2 separate regions of the Homo sapiens genome follow, and region 1 is linked to region 2. The links are contacts of gene promoters, found by promoter capture Hi-C in human tissues and cell types (Jung and others, 2019). All regions are on one chromosome and are shown on one strand. The core of a region is centred on a gene start or on the middle of the fragment in contact, and the rest is flanking DNA. Distances in the headings are between cores, read along the strand shown.

The links. Contacts are between HindIII fragments. The study calls those that stand out against the background at their distance.
Region 1: the fragment with the promoter of PDXP here is called in contact with the fragment with the promoter of PICK1 in region 2 in 1 of the 25 tissues and cell types used here (pancreas).

What each region holds. Positions count from the first base shown.
Region 1 is chr22:37,657,441-37,661,984 of GRCh38, reverse strand. It overlaps PDXP (pyridoxal phosphatase), which reads right to left and starts at 3,262. Exons shown (of 2, transcript NM_020315.5): 1 at 2,629-3,262. The coding sequence starts at 3,202. It overlaps PDXP-DT (PDXP divergent transcript), which reads left to right and starts at 3,608. Exons shown (of 6, transcript NR_109952.1): 1 at 3,608-3,730. RefSeq lists enhancers at 1,037-1,547, 1,548-2,059, 2,886-3,387, 3,576-3,625, 3,636-3,705 and silencers at 2,766-2,875, 3,076-3,385. The HindIII fragment of the contact is 18,911 bases long and covers 1-4,544 here.
Region 2 is chr22:38,054,406-38,058,847 of GRCh38, reverse strand. It overlaps PICK1 (protein interacting with PRKCA 1), which reads right to left and starts at 1,444. Exons shown (of 13, transcript NM_012407.4): 1 at 1,261-1,444; 2 at 998-1,095. The coding sequence starts at 1,038. RefSeq lists enhancers at 743-1,366, 1,611-1,670, 1,367-1,992. The HindIII fragment of the contact is 14,484 bases long and covers 1-4,442 here.

The DNA.
Region 1 (4,544 bases), core at 2,013-4,512, 400 kb after region 2:
GGGTGACAGAGCAAGACTCTGTCTCAAAAAAAAAAAAAAAAAAAAAAAAAAAAAAAAAAAAAAAAAATTAAAGAAAAAGAGAGAGAATAAAAGCCACGTGCTCCGTTGGTGAGCGATTCCTTCTGGGACAGAAAGGGCTTCCACTGAGTCATCCCAAAATGTTCTTCTGAGCTCAAGAATGGCCCCAACTCTGTCCTTCCCCACCAGGATGGAGCTGTTCACCTTTGGGCCCTGTGTCCCACATCCTTCATTCAGCTAATATTTACTAAGGCCCAACTACATGCCAGACACGGGATAGAGCAGTCAACACTACAAAGATCCTGACCTCAGGGGAGCGAGCCTCCTAGCAGGGGCATCTGGGAACATCGCCGTCTCCCAGGCCACCATCATTCCACTCCCCTCCACTCTGTAATCCACCGCTCTGCATGTTATGCTGATGACGTATTCCTAAGACAGCAGGCCTTTCTATTTGTCAGCTCAAGTGGCTGCCATGTGGTGACAAGATAAACACACAATTTCGGAGGTCCCTGGGGCAGGGGAGGAGGAGTTGGGGGTGAGATATTTGCATTATTTCAGACATACACATCATGGGGGCTTTTATTAATATTGTCACACCACACCACACCACACACACACACCACACCACACCACACTGTTTGAAAGCTGCATCAAGCTGTGCACAAACATGATCGCAGTGCTGTATTTGTTAAGCCTCTGCCTCCCCCTCTAGGCTATGGGAGTGACAGCAGGATGGGTGGGCACAGCCAGGTGGCTACTGAGACCAAAGGGGTCTGGATTCCACAGACGCCTGCAAGGCAGGTGTGGGCAGGGCCTGGTTTCTCCCTAGCTCCTTGACAACCAGCCTTCCTGAGCCCTGGGGAACCTCTTAACCCACAGCCTTAACCTGAGCCTTGAGGCCTCCTGGGAAAAACTTTTCATAGCATAGCCTAAGGCAGGCAGGAGCTGCTGCCGCTGACAGCCCTGACCAGAGAGCCCTCAACACAGACTTATAGGGAAACTGAGGCTGAGGTGAGCCCGCCCACATACCAAGCAGGTGTGCAGCACAGCCAGGAGAGGCCAAGGACTACAGAATCCCTCTCTGCCATGCCATAACACTGGGTTTACATCTCCTGGTGTATTATCACTGCCCTGCATCATGCCTCCTCCAGGAAGTCTTCCTAGGTGCCCCTGGCACTAGGCCCTGCTCACCACCCCACCATAATCCTGTGTCTACTTCTCTCCACTCAATACCATCCTGTACCCCCAGGATTTAATATCAATGACTGTCCGGGTCAGTGGCCAACAGAGACGGAGTGACAGAGATCTGTCCACGGCCCCAGTATACTGACTGGGCTATTAACCTGTCCACACACACTGACCACTGCCAATTAGCCTCTGCTGCCACCTGCTCTTGTCTAACGCAAACCCTCCACAATGGAGGAGCCTCCTTTTGCTTCTGCCTCCCCTGCAGGGCTGAACTCGCAAGATGACAGCAGTGAAGACTGCCCTGGAGGTCGGTGTCACAAAGGCCAAATTCAGGTTCCCGCGCTCTATCACTCTGCCAGAGAGTTGCTGGCAGAATTCTGCCCCACCCATCATTGGGGTGCGGTTGGAGGGTTGGAGGGGAAGCCTGCGAGGACTGTCCCTACTTGTGAGGGCTGAAACACCAATTCCCAGAGGCAGGATGGAGGCAGGTGTGTGGGGACACAGGAGGTGGAGGGGCTCACTATATCTGTTCTTGGGCAGCTCACTTCCCTTCTCTTAGTCTCAGTTTCTTTCCTCTTCTTTTAGAGATAAGGTCTCACTATGTTGCCCATGCTGAAGTACAGTGGCTTTTCACAGATGCAATGATAGCACGCTACAGCCTTGACCTCCTAGGCTCAAGCAATCCTCCCGCCTCAGCCTCTCGAGTAGCTGGGACTACAGGCTGTTGCCACTGCATCCGGCTGCCTCAGTCTCTTTACTTGAGAAATGGGACAATAACTTCCATCTCCAGAGTAATTTGGAAACCAAAGAAGAACACACACAAAGCTGTTTCATTAAGTTCTCTGTAACATGGGGGACTCTGGCTACAACTTACATCATCTGAACACCTACTATGTGCCAGGCACTCACCCTGATCACCGTCACCGGGCATGCTGAGCACTGCCATTTCTCACCCAGGCAGAGATGCTTGGAGGTTATGTAACTGAACACGATTACACAGCTGTGAAGCTGGAGCTGGACCTGGAACTGAGGTCAAACTCCACCGCCTTTGCTCCCCACACACCTGCCTACACCCTGCCTCTGGGAATGGTGTTTCAACCCTCACACAGGGGGACAATCCTCCCAGGCTTCCTCTCCAACCCCACCCCGATGGTGGGTAGGGCAGAATTCCGCCCAACTCCCTAAGTTACAAAGGGCCTCAGTTTCCTCATCTGTCCAACAGGGACCACACTGCTGCGCCTCACAGGATGACGGCTACAGGGATCAACCGCCCCCCACACCAAAGCACCCTGGGCCTCCCTCGCACTCTCCTGTTCCCCACCTGCCACCTGGAGACGCCTCTTCCCCGCCCCTCACCCTTAGGCGTGGAGGCGAATGCGCAGGTCGCCCCCATCTCAGTTTCCCCGCCATTCCCGCGCTCACCAGGGGTCCGGCTGCCGTCGCTCAGCGGGTGCCATGGGTCACGGTCGGTGGCCACGAGTAGGCACTCGGGGTCGCGCAGGTGCGCGCACGCCTCCCTCAGCTTGGCGAAGGAGAAGTGCTCGTCGTAGCCCACAAGCACGGCGCGCACGCGCGGGGCCGCGCCGTCCCCCGCGCTCGGGTCCCCGGCCAGGCGCAGCCCCGCGGCGCGCAGCTCGGCGCGCAGCCCCTCGCCGCCCAGCACGAACACGGCGCCCGGCGCGTCCGGAGGCCCGGGCAGGCGCTGGCGCAGCAGGCGCGCGGCGCACAGCGCGGAGCTGAAGAGCTGCTCGGCGCGCAGCCCCCCGAAGCCGAGGCGCGCGAAGCGCAGGGCCAGCTCGGGCCGCGCGCGCCGGCTGTTGTTGCTCACAAACAGAGCCGCCTTGCCGGCCCGCGCCAGCCGCTCCAGCAGCTCCGGGGCGCCCGGCACGGCGCGCTCGCCGTTCCACAGCACCCCGTCACAGTCGAACAGGACCCCCTGCGCCCGGCCCAGCACGTCGCGCAGGGCCGCTCCGCGCAGCCTCTCGCAGCGCGCCATGCAGCCGGCCGGCCGCCGGCCTCCCGCGCCGCGCTCTCTCCGCGGGCACGGCGCGCTCTCCCTGGCACGTTCCACGCAGCCGCCAATTGGCGCGCTGGAAGGACCGGGGGGCGGGGCGACGGCGTGGCCTGCAGCCAATGGGGGCGAGAGTCTGGGAGAGGAGCGAAGCCGCGAGCTAACGGAACTTGGAGAGAGGGGCGGATTCGTGGCCAACACCGAGGGGAAGGGACCAATGAAGAGCTAGCTTGATCCTTCTCCCCGTCCCTGGTTCTGCTGGACCAGTCGCCGCCGAGTTTCAACGCCGACTACACTCTTACGCGGTGGGAGACTGACGCTCTTCTTAACCAATAAGAATCTACAAACAAAACGCGAAGCGAAAGGCCCCGTGCCCTCCAGCCAATCAGAAGCTTAGGCGAGCTGGTTGCTGGGAGAAAAACAGATGTTAAATGAACTGCCTTTGGGTCGAATCTCATTGCCCCCTGAATCGTGGACGCTCCAGTTCAGAGCGAAGTCCCAAGAAACGTGTGTGTACGATGGGGTACGAGGCACATGGTGTCTTCTTGGGTGCTGGAGCCCTCGGTCTAGACCAGTAGTTCTTCACACTGCGTTAGAGTCCCCTGGGAACTTATTTTCAGATATCATTTACATATAGTAAAATGCATAGATCTTAAATGTACAGTTCAATGTCTTGACAAATGCTTTTGAAATCACCGATGTGTAGCAGGACAGATCCTCATGTAAGTGTTTTGGGTGAAGACTGGGCATTTTTTGGTTTGTTGGTTAGTTGGTTTAATTCCAGGGATTCTACCGTGAGCTAGGATAGGGTAGGGAAGCACTGGGCTAGAGGCTGGTAGGCTGTCACTGCAGCACGCCCCGGGAGGGCAGGATCCAGAATGGTCGTGGCCAATTGCCCAGAATAGTAATGGGGTGACCCAGGTTGGCTGGGTCCCTGTCTTAGGGAGGAGGCCTTGTGATCTGGAAGCAACCACAGGTCTTGGGACCTTTGAGGAGCCACTGGTCTGCAGTGTGGGGATGAATGAATTGTGAGCTGTGGTGTCACAGTTTTGAAGTTGTCTGCCAACTTCAGATAAGGCTGTGACCCCCAGGAGCAACTGGAGCTCCAACGACTTGGGAAAAACTGTACCTTGTACCCAACCTTGGAAGCTCAACTAGCTCCTATTCCCCAAGTGCCCTAAGCCTTTTGCTCCTGGCCTTTGCATAGATAGTCTCCTTGGCCTGAATGTTCCTTTTTCCTTTAAAAATTTCACCTTCAGGGCCGGGCTCGGTGGCTCACGCCTGTAATCCCAGCACTTTGGGAGGCTGAGGTGGGCGGATCACGAGG
Region 2 (4,442 bases), core at 195-2,694:
TTTTTAGTAGAGACGGGGTTTCACCATGTTGGCCAGGCTGGTCTTGAACTCCTGACCTCAGTTGATCCGCCTGCCTCAGCCTCCCAAAGTGCTGGGATTACAGGCGTGAGCCACCGTGCCTGGCCAGCTATGGGACTTGGGTAAGTCAGCCTCTGTGCATCTCAATTTCCTCATCCATAAAATGTGGATGAGCACCCTTATCAGAGTTCTTCTAACCATGCATGGAGGGCACTAACAGCAACCCAGTCCATAGCAGGCACTCCATAAAAATAGGTCCCCCTTCCCTTTCATTTATTCGATCTCTGAGATTTGAGCCAGGTTCTGTCCTTGTCACCTTATCAGGCATCTATGTAGTATGATGGCCACCTACTCCAGGGAGTCTTCCTCTATTAAACTGTCCACCTCCCACCTCTCAACTGCTCGATTACCTCTCGGTTTCCACTATAAATTAGCATTGACTGGTGTTTTATGATAAGTACTCACGCTGATTCACTTATTCATTCAAAAAACATTCGCTAACAACCTACTGACGTCAAGTCCCTTACTAAGTGCTGAGCATAGAGAAAGGCATTGCACCCACTCCTTGATCTGAAAGAGGATATATTCTAATGGGAAAATCTGTCCTACTAACAACCTATGTTGGGAAGGAAGGGTGTCTACAATATTCCTATTCAACCTTCAAAACCTGGTTCAATTGCTACGTCCTCCATGAAGCTTTCCTTGACCATCCCAGCAGAAGCACTGCTCCATCTGCTTTGCTCTTCTTGTCACCAAGTCATGCTAATAGTGCCCTTATGGCACTGAGCTGTGATTATCCCTTTAACTGTCCACAGCCCCCTACAAATAGTGAGCTCCTGGGAGAGCAGGGTCCATTGCTGCTTCAGTACAACAACTGATCCACCGCTGAGAAGCAAGGGTCTGTGGGACTGGGAAGTCCAGGGAAATGAGGAACTTGGGGCTCCTATACTGCTGGAACTTGGGGGAATAAAATACTCACAGTTTATCCTCTTCGATGTCATAATCCAAGTCTGCAAACATGGTTCCGAGAGTTGGAGTGGGCTGGCTAACTGCCCAGCTCGGTAGGGGAATGGGGAACTGGATCCGGGAGAGAAAGGAGCATAGGATTTAAGGAACCCAAGTGCCTAAATGCCAACGCCACCCCTCCCTCCACCACCTCATACGGGACAGCAGTGCCCTCCTCTTCCCTCTGGAGTGGGATGGGACAGTCTCCGGGTGGGGGGCTGGGTAGGTGATTCTTACTAGGTACAAAGGGGGGCTCCAGGCCAGGGCGATAGGCTCAGATCCCAGAGTCCGCCCCACGGGTCTCCAGGCCCTGGGGAGCTGCCTCTGTCGCTCACCGGAAGCGTTGGTCCCACAGCCGGGTCCCGGCCAGGCTGGTACCTGAACCCACCTGCCGTTCCACCTGGCGGTGGCCGCGATTGTCACGTCACTTCCGGCAAGACGCGGAAGTCCCGGCTTTCCCCCCACTGGATATTTGCTCCAATCCCTGCAGACAATCCTTCCCTTCCCGGCTCCCGGGACGCTCGGAACCAAGAACGAGAACAAGTATTGGCGGAAGCTCGCTGTTAGTAGGAACAAGCGAAAACAGAGGAACGGTCTGGACAGGCTGACAGCGTCTAACCCCGCCCTTTGCCCTGCCGCCGCCGCCATCTTGGGAAGGGCAGGGTTTGTCCCAGCTTCCTCAGCTGCACTCAGGGGCCCGCGCCGGCCCGGCGGTTGCCATGGCAACGAAAGCATCCCTGAGCCGGGGTTACCTCCGGCGAGGCTCAGTGGACTATAAACCCCAAGACATCATGCCCTTTCACCCCTTCACCACCTGGGCCTGTGACTCCCCTACTAGAATGGCCCTTTGAGGTCCCAGCCCATCCCAGTTTCGCCAACTTAAGTGCCAAAGAGCGGGGAGTGATTTTGTGCGGGGCCACACACAGTTGGTGTAAGATCTGGATCGTGGCCCTGAAACTCCCGCCGCCTAGTCTAGGGATCTTTGAACGTCCAAACACTAAACAGAGAGCCAGGAGAGGTGTATTCAGTGGGTCTTGCTATTAAGGACAGACTGGACATGCTCCCTTCCCTTTATGTGCCTCAGTTTCCCCATATGTAAACCAAGGCCATTGAGGTAAATGCTTTCTATGGTATATGGTGAAAGGTTTCTCACACCCCCTCCTCCTTCCTTAGTCCTGAGGAGCAGCCCCCCTGGGGTCCCAGGGAGGGTCACGGTCCGCATGTACCTGAGGCTCGGGAAATGCTATCAGTGCTCCCCAGAGTCCGAATCTTGTCTCCTCGCCAGCCTCTGCTGCCACTGCTATTGTGTAAAGTGGGTTCCCTGGGGGAGGTTGGCTCTCCCAGAGCCACAGCCAGGCATCCACCTCATCCGGCAGCATGGGGCCAGGCCCATCCAGCTTGCTTCCCCAGCTGCCCCAGGAGCCATGGAAGAAAGATACAGAAGGATGATTATCCACATATCCCACGGCCGGTGGAAGCCCCGCCCTACTCTCTCCTTAGGTGGCTAATTGAGTCCGGACAGATGTGCAGAATGCCGTGACAATAACAGCCTTCCCACGTGTCCACTGCTCTCCTGTGAGATCACTTTCACAGGATTTGAAAGCTCACCACCACCCTGTGAGAGAAGACCAAATCTTGCCAGCCACATTGTGCAGGCAAGGAAACGGAGGCCCTGGGAAGCCTCTTCCTCTGGTATCATAGCGGCAGGGCTGGGGCTGGGAAAACCAAGCTCTGTTTCCAGGCCAGAATTTTGGTTTCAAAAAGCAGCAGTCTAAGGCCAGGTGCGGTGGCGCACACCTGTAATTCCAGCTATTTGGGAGCCTGAGGCAGGAGAATCGCTTGAAAATAGGAGAGGGAGGTTGTAGTGAGCCGAGATCAGGCCATTGCACTCCAGCCTGGGCGACAGAGAGAGACTCCGTTTCAAAAAAAAAAAAGGCAGCAGTCTCCAAACCCAGGTGCCTTAACATGGATTGTGGCTCTTCCAGCCCATGACCATGCTAGCTCAGGCCCAGGCTCTGCCATTTTGTAGCTGGGAGATCTTGGGTGAGTCGCTGTCTCACTCTGAGCCTCAGGTACGTGTAGAATGGGGAAATGACACCTGCCACCAGGTATTTGTGAAAGTCAAGATTAAAAGGAGAGGCTGGGCGCGGTGGCTCACGCCTGTAATCCCAGCACTTTGGGAGGCTGAGGAGTGTGGATCATGAGATCAGGAGTTGGTATAAGATCTAGATCATATATCTGGACCAGCCTGGCCAACATGGTGAAACCCCGTCTCTACTAAAAATGCAAAAATTAGCCAGGCATGGTGGTATGCACCTGTAATCCCAGCTACTCAGGAGACTGAGGCAGGAGAATCGCTTGGACCCGGGTGGCGGAGATTGCAGTGAACCGAGATCGCGCCATTGCATGCCAGCCTGGGTGACAGAGCCAGACTCCATCTCAGAAACAAAAGATTAAAAGGAGAAACAGGTGTGAGTGCTTTGTAAACAATTTGCATGGCACAGCTGTCACTCTGACCTCAAAACCCCCTACCCACTCTGGCCCTTCTTCTCAGGTTGGGGAAGATGCCCCTGTTTTCTGCCTTGTTCATCCCTTGCCTGCAGGCTCCGCTCTAATTCACCTCTTCCCGGCAGCCTTAGCAGACAATCTCAGCTCATATATCTTGCTCCCTTTTCTGAGCTGAGCTCCTGAGCAGTTGCTATTTGAATCATTTGTTCAGCAATTTGCTGTGTATTTGCCTTGTGAAATCTCTTCATGGTTTTCCTGAGCCAATTCTGCAGTGATTAATTTATTACATGCTTGTATTTTGTCTGGCAAGGTTTTTATCCCCTTTAAATTTGGGGCTTACAGCTCATAGCTACGCCTGGCTAATTTTTGCAATTTTTTTCTTTTCTTTTCTTTTCTTTCTTTCTTTTTTTTTTTCTTTGAGATGGAGTCTCCCTCTTGTCGCCCAGGCTGGAGTTAAGTGGTGCGATCTCAGCTCACTGCAACTTCTGCCTCCCGGGTTCAGGCGATTCTCCTGCCCCAGCCTCCTGAGTAGCTGGGATTACAGGCGCCCACCACCATGCCCGGCTAATTTTTTGTATTTTTAGTAGAGACGGGGTTTCACCATGTTGATCAAGCTGGTCTCGAACTCCTGACCTCAGATGATCCACCCACCTCAGCCTCCCAAAGTGCTAGGATTACAGTTGTGAGCCACTGCACCTGGCCTTTTTCTCAACTTACTTTCTAATCTCTGGCACCCCCATCTTCCATAGTATACTTAGAATCCATCAACAGGTGTCATTGTGACAGACAAGAAAAAGGAAATCAGATTGCTTTGTAATACTGTTGGTGTGAAAATGTCACAACCTGCTTAGCTTTTTTAGCAGAGGGGGTCACTGGAATCAGCCCACACAGCAGAGGAACATGTCCCAGTC